Regions from separate parts of the Homo sapiens genome. Here region 2 is linked to region 1. Evidence: promoter capture Hi-C in 16 types of primary human blood cells and fetal thymus (Javierre and others, 2016). All regions are on one chromosome and are shown on one strand. The core of a region is centred on a gene start or on the middle of the fragment in contact, and the rest is flanking DNA. Distances in the headings are between cores, read along the strand shown.

The links. The method cuts DNA at HindIII sites, captures the fragments that hold promoters and counts their contacts. A CHiCAGO score of 5 or more calls a contact.
Region 2: a fragment that was not itself captured here is called in contact with the fragment with the promoter of PRDM5 in region 1 in 1 of 17 cell types (activated CD4 T cells); the score reaches 7.1 in activated CD4 T cells.

Annotation. Positions count from the first base shown.
Region 1 is chr4:120,918,970-120,926,114 of GRCh38, reverse strand. It overlaps PRDM5 (PR/SET domain 5), which reads left to right and starts at 3,389. Exons shown (of 16, transcript NM_018699.4): 1 at 3,389-3,599. The coding sequence starts at 3,507. It overlaps LOC105377399 (a long non-coding RNA gene), which reads right to left and starts at 3,179. Exons shown (of 2, transcript XR_001741804.2): 1 at 2,788-3,179. The HindIII fragment of the contact is 4,297 bases long and covers 1,199-5,495 here.
Region 2 is chr4:121,310,296-121,317,440 of GRCh38, reverse strand. No RefSeq gene overlaps it. Among named protein-coding and RNA genes, the nearest start is that of QRFPR, 67 kb to the left of the region's middle. The HindIII fragment of the contact is 1,334 bases long and covers 3,405-4,738 here.

The DNA.
Region 1 (7,145 bases), core at 2,140-4,639:
CCTCCCAACACTGTTGCTTTGGGAATTAAATTTCCTACACGTTAACTTTTGAGGGACACATCCAAACTGTAGCATAATGTTACTCAATTTAGTCACAACAACCTTCAGTTTTCTTCTAGTTAAAATTTATGATTCTTTTTTGGTACCACATACAAGTGTATGGTACCTTTCCAAAACTCAAGACATTAAGAAAAATTTAGTGTTCACACTTTTTTAGGTTTCAGGGACATCTTTTCATGGTGCTGTTGCTATTGTAGAATCAATGCTGAGGATAGATGTTTTAAGAGCAAGAATCTGACACCGTTACTCTCCATTTTATTTTAACAAACTTTTTTTTTTTAATCACACCAACTAAATCTTTATTCTTTTCTGCTCTGGAAACTTGGTTTTATATTCAATTATTACAAAAGCCCTCTGGTTCTCTGATAACTGAAGACAAATATGTTTCAGGTTATTATTATTTTTTTTCTATCAATCAGGCTTTTAGTCTACCATGGTGCTTGGAATCAGTCATCAATAACCAAGGCACAATTAAAAGAGTTCGACAGTATGTATAAATACTGACAGTATGGTAAAATAATTAATTAATATACAGTCATAATTCAAGTCTTCCCTAAAAACAAGGCCCACTCAAGTACATACGTTTAAATGCAATAACTAGAGCTTGCTTTAGACATATCAATGAAAAAGATTCCTCCAAAAGCAAATCTGAAAGTAAGGAACAATGTATTTTGAATAATTTCTTGTTTGTCAAGACAGTGCAATATTTTCTAGAATAAGTAAATCAGGTGCATGGTAGTACTTTAATATCAATTTTTTTGATTTTGTTATTTATTTTTTAAAGACTGGATTTAAACTCCTGATATAAAGCAGACTTTTAATTTCCCGTTTTTCAAAGATAATATTGAAAGGTCGCTTTCTAGCTTTTAAAGTTTTAAGAAATGACTCATTGTACTATCACTGTCTTACAGGCTTCAAAATCAAATATCCGGTCAATACTGTGCATTTTGATTTGGCAAACATGTATCCTTTTTGTGTGTTGTAATGGAACTTATTATTAAGAACTTTTTATTGCTAGTTCCTATGTTTTAGTTAGTAGATCTTCAGAACACTCCATTAAATAGATAAAAAAGAACATTGCATGCTTTAATGAAATACACTGAATGTGTCAATTGTAACAAAAATATCTGACCAAGCTTCATAAAATATCTGGAAAGTTTCTCATCTTATTGATTTCAGATTTATCTTTAAAATTTTATTTATATACTTTCACCATTTTCTAATTAGTAAAGAAGCCTACATTCAGAGAGGGGCATTCTCAAGGCTGCAGCCTTGCTCCCCAGAAAGACAGCATGCAACCAAATATTTGAGAGATATGCCTAAATAAGGATCCCTAAATAAGGATTGTTTCAGACTAAAACCAAAAAACGTTTTCCTCTCCAGCGATCAAAAGCTGTGGAAATTCTCGTGCCCAAAGAGACAGTGGCAGAGCATTTGACTGAGAGCCCTGGATGGCTTAAGGGTGGCTGGAAGCCTGTGTTTGACAAAGAGCTGAATGCTCCAGGAAAATGCCAGGGCCCCACCTTCTGGACTGTGGGCCCAGTGGATCTGGTCTGGCATGGTTTCAGCCCTGGTTCTAAGGAACCCTGGAAAACCTACTTAGTCCAGTTCCTTGTGAAGCACAACAAAAAGTCAAGTAAATTCTAGGCTCACCATAGAATTTTTGAACATCTCAGATCAGCCTCAGAAGTGACTTTCATTCAAGACATATTTAATGAACACCTACTATTTTTCAAGGCCATGGAACTCCCAATTCCCCCAAAAGAGAGTTTTTGTTTTTATTGATTTATTTTCCCCTAGAGAAGTTAGAGATCTTCCATGGGAAGTCAAAGGTATCAAAACTCACAGAGTGGCTAAGTGTTCCTCTCCCTGCTGTGAAAGCTAAACTTACATTTCTTAGAAAGAGGATCATGTCATCATTTACTGTGTTCCTTAAAGTCTCCGAATATTGCCACTACATGATTTTTTTTTCCCATAATGCCTTTTGTTCTTGTTTTTTAAACCTTTTTCCAAACTTGAATCAAAATCTACATAGGGGCCGGGTGTGGTAGCTCAAGTGTGTAATCCCAGCACTTCAGGAGGCCAACGCCGCCGGAGGATCCCTTAAGCCCAGGAGTTCAAGATCAACCTGGGAGACATAGCTAGACCCTGTCAAAAAAAAAAAAAAAAAAAAATCTGCTTAGGAACTATGTTCCAAGGGTTTCCTGCAGAAACAGGAATCGTTTCCATGGTGTGTGTGTGTAGTCTGTAATTTTGTCAAACTTTTGTGTGTGCTTTTAATGGTTTATGAGAACATCAATTAAGAACATCAAATGGTTTCCGAGAAAAGACCCTAGAGTAGAAAATTACCATAAATATCAAGAGAAATGAGTAGATGACCCCAGGATCACTTTGAAGGATGAAACAGGCTTTTAAAGGTCCTGGGCACACTGCACAGCCTAACAGCTTATTAAAAACACTAAAACAAGACTTGTGACTTTATTGCATTGTTGTGACACCAGATGCTATTGTTTGGGTGTCCCCTCCTGTCTCCCACAAATCCACTTCCGTATGTCTGAAAATCCGTAATACGTCTAATGATTATCAAGCAAGGGAGGTCTCAGGAATATTGTACCTTGAGAAGTATAAGAACTTCCCAGAGGTTATGTTACCATAAAATATCTAGTTTCTAGTGCTTAAAACATTAAATTGTTTGCAACATATTTTTCCGTACGTTAATCAACATACTTTGCGATCCCTTATTAAGTTCTAGCCTCTGCAACAAACGTGAAAAAAAGCAAAGACGCATAACTCAAATGTGAGAAGCACGGAAATTTCCTAGACCGCAGGGTTCGTTCTCAGTAGTCGGCAATAAGCTGGCTTTCAGAGTCAGGAACTTGATAAAGTTGTTTTGGAGGATGCCCCAGCTGTGTGAAGGTCCATTTCGTTTTGCATCTGAAGAGAAGCAAGCGAGACTCCCCTACAGGGAGTAATGGTTCAGCGGGGCAAGGTTTGAAAACCCAGAGCTGGACAAAGGCGGGAACGCACGCCGCCGCGCCGGGGCTAGGGGTGCTGACGGCCCGCGCAGCTCGCGGGCCTCCGGGTTTGAGGCCCTGGGGTCAGCCCTGCTCCGGGCTTCGCGCCCGGGCGCGGGTCAGAGCCGCCAACTTCGGGCCAATCAGCGAGCGGCGTCCCGGCGCCCGCAGCGCCCAGGCCCGCGCCCCCCGCGCCCCCGCAGCAGGAATGGCAGGAACGGATCCGGGCCGAGCCCGACCCGGGACGAGGAGGGGCTGAGCCGCGGGGGATCCTGGAATCGGCAGGGAGGTGGGGATTCTGGGAGGAAAACTCCATTTCCTCCTTCCCTGCCGGTTTCTCCCCTCTACCCTGGCACCCCAAATTTCGATGTGCCGCCTGCCGGGCGCTAAGCGCCGGTGTTGAGAGAGGCGGCGGCCGCCGCGCCCGGGAAAATGCTGGGCATGTACGTGCCGGACAGGTTCTCCCTGAAGTCCTCCCGGGTTCAGGACGGCATGGGGCTCTACACGGCCCGCAGAGTGCGAAAGGTGGGTGACCCGGCGGCGGCCTGCGCGCCCCTGCACCTCGCGCGCCCTGTGCCTCCCGGAGTCGCCCTGCCGCAGGGCCCGGGGCGCGGCGGGCTTCACCCCGGTCGCCCCTCGCCCGGGCCGGGCCAGGCGTCCGTGGGAAGGCCGGGGACCGCGGGGCACGGCGGGGGTGGCCTTTACTCGCTGCGCCACCCGAGCAGGCAGCGCCACGTAGGTGGCGGCGGGGTGCGCTCCGCTGCCGGCCGGTCCAGGGGCGGAACTGCCACCGGCCTCCCTGCCGCAAGATGTCTTTCCTCTCTCCCGCAGGAAGTGAGCGCGGCGGGAGCCTCCCTCTTCCTCGGTTACGGGTGTGAGCTGCGTCTTTGCGTTGGCGAAGGCACGCGTGGGCGGGTGTTTTCCCCCGCGCGCACGCTGCTCCGCTGTCGCCTCTTTTCCTTTAGGATGAATTAATGTGGCTAGAAACGCCTAACTTTCCATGCGGGGATGGGAGGAGCAGCCCAGAGCGCCGCTCCACGCAGGCCGTAGAATCTCATTCATACGCCCAGGATTTCCTTCCCTCCTTCTGGAATGTATTATATGTGCCTTCAGGGAGGTGCCAACCAGATGATCTTTGAGTGTCTATACCTTTTTTCTCCGCTCTTTTTTTTTTTAATTTGTCTCCAACATCGGTTCGATCTCTCCAGCCAGAAAGTTACAGGCATGTGATGAGAGGAAGCACATTGCTCAGTTCGTACAGGAAGGGCCTGAAAGTGTTGGATGTTGAAAGCAAAGGCCTAGGAAGAGAGGCCACAGGAAAAGTCCAGCTCTTTGGATTTGATCTTATAATATTATAACTTGTTAGAGTCGTCCTAGCCGTCCTCGCCCCCTTTTCTTAGTAGATATTTTGTAAGATGGAGGTTTGGGCAAGAACAGGCTTGTTCAGGTAAGGTATGTTAACAAGAGGTTCAGAGGATGCAGTAGAGACACTAGGGTGCCTTTCATCTGCATATAACCCTCTCCCCTTTGCCTCTGACCTAAAGAGCTGGTGAAGAGTAGTAGAAAGTGCTAGTAATCCCCAAAAAGGGCTCCACTGACAACATGATCTCCAGTCATCCTTCAGGGCAAAATTGGAGAAAATAAACCACTTATTTATTTTTTCAAGTGGGAGTTGGCGAGAATGTTCAAATGTTAAAAACAGGAATAAATAATTTATCTGAATTAGAGGTGTATTGAATAGTTGCCAAATGGCCAAATGTTAAAATCAACATTTTTTGAAGGCCAAATACAACCATCACCAAATGACGTCTGTACAGAGTTGAAATTCTCCTTTTAATTCATTCTTAAAAGATGTGAAAAATTCTCAAACAGACCTTCCTTAAAGGTTTCTGGCTTAAATTTAATTACTTTAAAAATTAAACACAGATCTTAAAAATCATTTTATTTAATGTTATGAAGAGTACTGTAAACAACTCTGCAAAGATTAGAATTATTATATAATCCTTGTTGTTTCCTTATATTACCATATAGATTTTTAGAAACAGCTGGCCAACCTACTTTCTTTTGAGATTTTTATTAATTTCAGTTTATTTTTTTCATGTGTTTGATTCTTTGTAAGTATTTTATTTTTGGGCATGCAATGAAATGAACAGCTTCCAAAATCATCATATATTATTGCATCACTTTACTATTGCAATGATAAATGCTTATCTTTTCCTGGCCAGTTTAACTTTAATAAATAAAACACATACAGATTTTCATCCAGATCATATTTAGAATGCTTCGCTGTATTTCAAAGTGAATGTGCAGATGTTTGCTATGAATCCAAACTATTATCGATGTTTAGTTATGATCCCAAAATATTCAGTCACAAGGTCATGGACAGGTTTGTTGATCTCAGAAATGACCTTAAAGCAAGCTTCAGTTCCTTTTCCTTCCAAAATCTGAGGACGAAGACAAAGCTAAAGCCAAACAGCAGACTTTAGCTGAATTGTGAGGCTGCAGCTGAGTATCAAGGCATCCCTTACCTGCTTATGGAAGGCAAACAGTCCCTCAATTCTTAGGTATTTTCCAAGTAACCTTGTACTAGGCCTAATTCTGGACATAAATCAAGGGATCTGAGAAGAGAGATTTATCAGCAGCTACATTAAGAACCTTACTTAAAAGTTTTTATGCTCTCTATTCTAAACAAATTTTGGAAGATACCACTTTTAATACATGTGTTGGAAATTACAGATGTTTTGCCACACTTTTATAACACATATGCTTGTATAACACTCCTGTTTTAAAAAGTGCTTGCAATTCAAGCCATCTGTTGATTTCAAATTCAGAGAATCTAATCCAGACTGAGGTTGGGGAATCTTGCTAGAAACCCCACCCTCATTACATTCACCAGGTTGAGATGGGATTTTCTTGCTGGTGGTACCTCTTAATCCTCTAGTCCTACCCCTTTTCGTGCAGTGCTTCCTAGAGTGGTGGTGTCTTTGCAGCAGAATCACCTAATTCCCTGGCTTTACCTTAGTCCTACTAGATTTTTCCTTGGCAATTATCCTTTTTTGCTGGTCTGTTGCCTCTGATTTTTTTTCCAGTATAAAAATCTGTATAGTGACAACTCAAGAAAACGAAAAGAGTCAGTTAGAAAGCTTTTGAGAAGAAAAAGGAGACCTGAGTTCATTCATACTTTTACACATTGTGATTTGCTAATAATCAGAATAAGGAAAAATAATGAAATTGACACTTTTTGCATGCTGTGTGCCAGACCCTGTCTAATGCTTGCTGTGTTTTCTCGGGAGCACAGTTGAATGCTTCAGTGAAAATGTGGCATTTTAGGTTGCAAAGTATTATGCAGATTAAAATTAATATTAGTTACTCAAAACTCATAAATTAAGTATACATCCAATAAAAATTTAAAGTTAAGCAGACACCTTACTACATTACATTTTTTGTTTCATGACCATTTTTTTCCTAGCTTGCTTATATGATTAACCACCAGTGGGTGGTGTTTTTTGATATTGTACCTGAAACTGCAAAGTGGAAAGGTTATTTCAAGCTCTCAGATTATGTGATTTTAAGGGAAAGATTAAGGTGGAAATACACTGCTCTCAGCTTTCTTTCCCTTTGGATATTTTAGGCTGTAGGTTTTTCTTCTCTGACTTTCAGTCATTTAATCATTCATATGTGGCAGGTACTGTACTAGGCCCTGGGAATACACAGGTGAGCAAGACAGACAAGGTCTTTTTCTGCAAGGAGCTTGCTTTCTTATGTGGGGAGATAGGCAGCAAACAAGTATAAAATGGAAGATTACCAAAATGATTGAGGCAAGTGTTAAATTAATTGCAGGAAATAAACAGGATGAGGCATTAAAGAGTAAATGAGGGGTGGGTCTACTTTAGGAGGGTCAGCAGGGAAGACTTTTCAGAGGAAATGACTTCTGAGCAGAGAGCTGAAGTCGCTGAGCCAGCCAGGAGATTCTCTAGGAAGAGAAGTGCAGAGAGCCAGCCTGTTCAGTATAAAGTTCTTCCTCTTTCAAAGTGCCTGTCTCTGGGCTTTGGCCAGAGGCATGCTTCCCAG
Region 2 (7,145 bases), core at 2,822-5,321, 390 kb before region 1:
TATTTTTATGCCAGTACCATGCTGTTTTGATTACGGTAGTTTATTATATACTTTGAAATTAGGGAGTGTGATGCCTGCAGCTTTGTTCTTTTTGCTTAAGATTACTTTGGGTATTCTGAGTTTTTTCTGAGTCCATACAAATTTTAGGATTGTGTTTTGTATTTCTGTGGAAAATGACATTGGCTTTTTGAAAGAAATTGTATTGAATCTTCAGATTCTATAAAATCTTACTAACGTGTTTAGGTGTTGTTGATCTTTTTGCTCCTTTGGTACTCTGTAAGAACTCTTAGTCTGAGATTTCTGATTTTTATTTTTGGAAAGTTTTTACCATTTATTCAAATATTTTCTTCCCTCTAATTATTTTATTTTTCTTTCTGGAATTTTTATTAAACAGGCTTGATATTTCTTTCCATTTTACTTAGTTTTTCATTTTTTTTTAACTTTTTAAATGTTTTTCTGGGAAAGTTTCTTTTTTTATTTTATTACATTTTTGTTTTATTTTGTGTTTGCATGTATGTGTATAGATACATGAAATCAAAAAAGCTGGAGAATTTTAATTTTCTCTCTTCTGGGAGAATTTTGAAATATAATATTCTTGCTCAGTAATTTGTTTATTTTGTATCCACTCTGTCTTTTCATCCCAATTCATAATTGTTTCATTTCAAATTTTGTATTATTTATATAAAAACCATCCGGTTTTTTGATATAACTTCCATTTCCTCTTCATGTCACCAGAATCCTCCTTAAAATTTCTTGGAGGATATTTATTATGTTTCTTTTAAAATTTTATAAGATAATTAACACTAGGAAGCAAAGGATAAGTGTAAATAAGAGTTATAAATATTTCCATGAATACTTAGAGAAGATCCTGGAACAGTCAAGAAGACAATAAGGAAATGGTAAATTTGAAGGATTTAGACCAGTTGTGGAGTTGGAATGATCTGTAGAAGAAAGAACATTCCGGTAAGGAGAATAGTGAAAAAAGATTTCTGGAGGTAGTAGGGAGTATTTTATAGAAATTCAAATAAGATTGTTTTAAGCAACATCATCTACTGTGAGTAAGGATAGTATTTAGAAAGCTAGCTTGTGTAGAAATGGTCCACAACAGTCAACTATGGGAAATGTGTAAATAAAGGATGATTGAGAGAGTTTCTGAATGGACAGTTGGGCCAGATTAAAGTAAGATTTCACAAGTTAGTGGTCAACCAAGGTATGTGATCTTAATAACATTTTCTAACAATACCAAAGAGTAAATGGGCTTGTCTGGGAAATATAGTCAGCAGAGAAGGCGAACACCAAAAGAACACTGAAATAAAAGGTGCTGTCCAGAAAATGTGACAGTTGTTCTGTTTTTAATAATAGGAAAATGATGAGAAAACAGGAGGAGATAGTGGGGAAGATGAGAGCGAATATGGACAGGAATGAGTAAATATGATGGGTTAATCTATGTTGTAAGGCACAGATAATAGGGCTGGACACAGTAGGAGGTAAGTATGAGATGTAGCACAGAACACATTGGTAGACGTTTGCAAATAGAGGAGATTAAGGGGCATCTGATATAACTGTCCCAGTTGAAAATTTGGTGTGGCTGGGCCTCTAGACACCACCTTACCCTCATCACCCCTGACAGAGGAGAGGAAGATGTTTTTTACTCTTGGGACTCCGGGCCTTGCTGGTAATAAGGTCCTCTGAGAATGTAAACTCACTGGGGCTTTCAAAATACAGGAGGAGAAATGTTAGATCCTAAGATTGCTCAAGAACTGATTAAAGCTTTGTGTTTCCATGGCTATAGATAGCATCCTTGTCCTCAGTACATCTTTCATAAATACATGACTATGTCAAAAGAGGGGTAGGGTAAAAATATATAGCTGAATCACTTCAAGATGTTACTATTTATTGGAGAGAAAAAAGCAAGTAAAAATACATATTTTTATGTTTCCTACGTCATATTCCTATGTGAAGGACACAACAATATTGCCTGCATTTCTTCCTGAAGAGCTTGGCCTGAATTGACTTCTCACCAAAGTCCTAAGGCTCTTTTTACTGATTAGTCCTGCTCTGTCTTCTGTTGTTGTCTTAGACCTTGATAGTTTTTGTGTCCTCCTACAGCATGTGTATATACAGACAGATTTCTGTTAAAATGAGTGGTGGATGGGCTACTGACCTTTATGTTGCCTACTCTGGATACCAGAATCTGAATAACCATAAATATATGAATATATGAGTATATGTGGTAGCATTTTTTAGAAATTCATCATATTTTCATTTGTCGATGGTAACCTTATCCACTGTGGGTAAAGAAACAAGATTCTGTGCTGTGCATTGTTGCTGCTGGTTCATTGTCTTGTCCACTGAAGCTTCCTATTCTGATTCTGAGGCCCTTTTTAGTAGGTCTTGGGCTTTGTTTTATCTTTTTTATTCTAAATATTGAGTTCTATATTTTAATACCTTGTCTTAACACTGCCACCTGGACCACTGAAGGCTATTGGATATGCTACAGTTCATTTCTCTTATCTGACTGCACTATTTCTGCAAGCTTTTCTGTAGATATCAGACCTTTAATGCCTTTCAGCAATAATTAAAAGGCATTAAAGGTCTGTAGTGGGCAATTGTGGTTTGTTATTTTGTTACATACTGATAATGTCTATCCTTTTTACGGTAAAAAATTTCCTTCTGAATATCACCCCTTCCCCAACTTAGACCATAGTGTTTGACTAGAAGTGTCCCTGCTCCCAGCTCCAGGAATCTTCCATGATTAGTGTAAGCCATAGTGATTAGTCTAAGGTTAAATACATGGCCCAATTCTGACCAATGAAAATTAGTCTCAGGATGTTTTTGCCACCTTTGGGATACAAAAGTTTTCACCTTCCTTCTGGACTCTAGGTAAGTACTGATGCAGCCATCTTATGAATACTGTCAACTGGTGACAACAGTAAGGCTTCTGCTGACAAAGGGAGGCACAGGAGGGAGAAAAAGCAAGCTGGTCCTAGATCAAGGTTCACTACAGGAGCACTGAAATTCCCAAGAGATCCCAAAAAGCCAACTGACTATATTGGTAAAAGCATTAAATATTTTCTTTACCAAATGGCTTAGGAAAATGCTATTTAATTATTTTATGCTCAATATTGAGTTAGTTGCATTTATGTCTAATCTTGACAACTAATCTTTGAAGGAAAAGAGTATAAGTTTATTCATATACACCTGTGTGAGACAGAGATACAAAAAAGCACAGTGCTTTGTACAACATAGTGGTACAACATTTGTTGACTTAAATTGACATGTATCCTAATTTTTTCCACAAGGGTCACTGAGTCTATCCTTATTCTGTATTTATAAATAATGTGAGTCATATAGCTCAGTGGAAATACAGCAGCTCTAAAGTCCACGCAATACTTACTAAAGCTTTGTTAAAGAACGTTGTGTAGGAAAACAAGATTGTACATATATATAAACTGTGATCTTGAATCATTGCTTTTGAGAGCTTTATAATAAGTTCTCAACTTGTCTAACATTTTATATCTCTTTATCATGAAATTCTTGCAAATTCGGATGGAAGGCCTCCATTAATGAAACATTTGTAATAGTGAGAGTGGGAAAATGGAATAGAAGATTAACAAAAGGTCTGGGTTAGAGTATGAACACTATTGTCCAACATGGAGTGTGGGAAGCACTGAACAATGAAGAAGCCCTGATTAATTAACTGGTTATCACCAAGGCTTTATCCAGGGATGATAATTATTTGGGCACTTATTTCAAGAAGGCGGAACTTGCTAATCTGGTATGAACACTATTGTCCAACATGGAGTGTGGGAAGCACTGAACAATGAAGAAGCCCTGATTAATTAACTGGTTATCACCAAGGCTTTATCCAGGGATGATAATTACTTGGGCACTTATTCCAAGAAGGTAGAACTTGCTAATCTGGGTGGAGGGATGTTCACAATGGCCTGGAATACTTTCCCTGTGCCCCTCCCGTTCCCTGTTTGGTTAGTCATTCATGGAGTAGTGGATATAACACTGGCTAAGGTCATGTCCTCAGTTCATGTTCCCACCTCTGCCGCTTGTTTGCTGAATTGGCTAGGGCAAGTCACTTCATCTATTTGAATCTTATATTTTTTCTGTATAGAATGAGGTTATAATATAAAGGCTCAATAAGATGGTGGTGGTTAAATGTTTAAAACCTAAAACTTAAAAAAGTAAAGCATACTATATTACTTTATTTGACTTTAATTTAATTTAAAAATTAATAAAAGTAAATCTAACCATCAAGTGCCTATCGTGCTAGGCTGGTGGGAAGTTTTTAAACATGGAATCACTCATTACTCCTACTGCCAATATCTATTTATTTATATCTTGCTGTTATGAAAATTTATACCTTGTATAGGTTTAATTAAATGTCTTCTTAATTAGAACTAGATTTTCCCAGGAACATCAAAAATTTTTTAAAAGACAAGTTAGACACACAATTATATAAAGATAAAAGACACAAATTACAAACTTTCTTTTGACTAAAAGAATTGAAAGTTGGGCTACATTTTTGTAGATTTTTAAGAATTCTTTAGAACTTCCTATATATAATATCATGCCATCTGTGGATAGTTTTACTTCTTCCTTTCCAATCTGGACGGCTTTTACTTATTTTTCTTGCCTAATTGCCCTGGCTAGACCTCTAGCACAATGTTGAATAGAAGTGGTAAAAATGAACAACTTGTCTTGTTTTTGACCTTGGAGGAAAGCTTTTCAGTCTTTTATCACTAAGTGTCATATTTGCTGTGGGTTTTTCATAAATGTCTTTTATCAAATTGGATACATTCCCTTATATTTCTATAATATCTATTGAGATGTTCGTGTGTTTTTTGTCCTTTATTTAATTAATATGTATTACATTGGTTAAGTTTCATGTGTTGTACAAATTTTGCATTCCTGGGATAAATCCCACTTGGTCTTGTTATACAATCCTTGTATGCTGCTGGATTCAGTTTTCTAGTATTGTGTTGAAGATGTTTGCATCTGTATTCATAAGGAATATTGGTCTGTAGTTTCCTTTTTTGTGATATTTTTGTCTGGTTTTGATGCGAGAGTAATACTGGCCTCATAAATTGCATTATTTAGTAGTATTCACCCATGATGCCATCTGGGCCTGAGCTTTTTTTTTGTGGAACTTTTTTGATTACTAATTCAGTTTATTCAATAATTATATATCTATTCAGAATTTTTATTTCTTCTTGAGCTAGTTTCAGTAGTTTGTGTCTTTCTAGGAATTTGTTAATTCCATCTAAGTCATCTGATTTGTTGTATGCTATATACAATTGTTTATAGTATTCCCTCATTATGCTTTGTTTATTTATTTATCTCTGCAAATTCAGAGTAATGGCCATTCTACTATATAGACATATAAAACTAAATGCAGTAATATTTTCTTCAGTTTCTCAGCAATAGGCAAGAGTCTACTCAGACATTCAAAGCACATGATTGTTGATTTTATATTCAAGCTCTGAAAATGGGATACAATTCTTCCTCAAACACTTTTTCCTCTATCATCCTGCATTAGTTAGGATTCAGTTTGCTCCAACAGGACACATATACCCTTGCCCAGTGTTTTCAAGCAAAACAGACTTTTAAAAACATTATTCCAGCTAGTTAGTATCAAACATTGATGGGTAGGAAATTGAGAGCCAATCCCCACTGCTGGCTCCAGGACCAGATCACTTCTGCCATGATCCATGCCAGGAGAATGGATATCCCATGTTCCACTGTTCAACACTAGAGAATGAGGAAGCCATCCCTGGGACCTCTGCTACAGCTGTCATGGAAAAGCCAAATGCTTTCCATGACTGTCTTTTTTTTTTTTTTTTTTTTTTTTTTTTTAGATGAATCTCAGTCTGCTGCCTGGGCCGGAGTGCAGTAGGGCAATCTCAGCTCACTGCAACCTCCACCTCCGATTTCAAGCGATTCTCCTGCCTCAGTCTCCCAAGTAGCTGGGATTGCAGGCACCCGCCACCACACTCAGCTAATTTTTGCATTTTCAGTAGAGATGGGGTTTCACCATGTTGGTCAGGCTGGTCTTGAACTTCTGACCTCAAGTGATCCGCCCGCCTAGGTCTCCCAAAGTGCTGAGATTACAGGCATGAGCATGTGCCCGGCCTCCATGACTGTCTTTACCGGCAGAATCCAGGTTTTTACCTGCCCTAGTTTTATTCATTTCAAGACAATACTGCTGGGGCACACTCAGATTTACTAATTTTAAAATTAGAATTTATTTTAGTCACTATGACTTGAGCCACTTAGAAATGTAAACGAACTTTGAGAGTAATTTTCTTTTTTTTTTTTTTTTTGTTCTTTAATTTCCTCATTCATTTATTCAAAAATATTTATCAAGTGAAACACTATTATAAAAATATAAAAACTTTGTTTTAATAAATGATTTTTTTTTTATTATACTCTAAGTTTTAGGGTACATGTGCACATTGTGCAGGTTAGTTACATATGTATACATGTGCCATGCTGGTGTGCTGCACCCACTAATGTGTCATCTAGCATTAGGTATATCTCCCAATGCTATCCCTCCCCCCTCCCCCGACCCCACCACAGTCCCCAGAGTGTGATATTCCCCTTCCTGTGTCCATGTGATCTCATTGTTCAATTCCCACCTATGAGTGAGAATATGCGGTGTTTGGTTTTTTGTTCTTGCGATAGTTTACTGAGAATGATGGTTTCCAATTTCATCCATGTCCCTACAAAGGATATGAACTCATCATTTTTTATGGCTGCATAGTATTCCATGGTGTATATGTGCCACATTTTCTTAATCCAGTCTATCATTGTTGGACATTTGGGTTGGTTCCAAGTCTTTGCTATTGTGAATAGTGCCGCAATAAACATACGTGTGCATGTGTCTTTATATTAGATGAAAACATCTGACTCTGAGACATTTAAAATATGTTTCTTATTTCTTTCAGCTTTTATGGTTTTAGAGACTTTCTATTATTTTCTTCTTCATACAACTCATGTGATATGACTGCTAGTATTTGCATGTTTTGATCTTCGACTTAAAAATCAGTTCAACCCCCTCTCTACACTATCACTACATATTTCTGAGATAAAAAGTACTTATGTTTTCCAAGCATTTGAAAGAACACCTACAT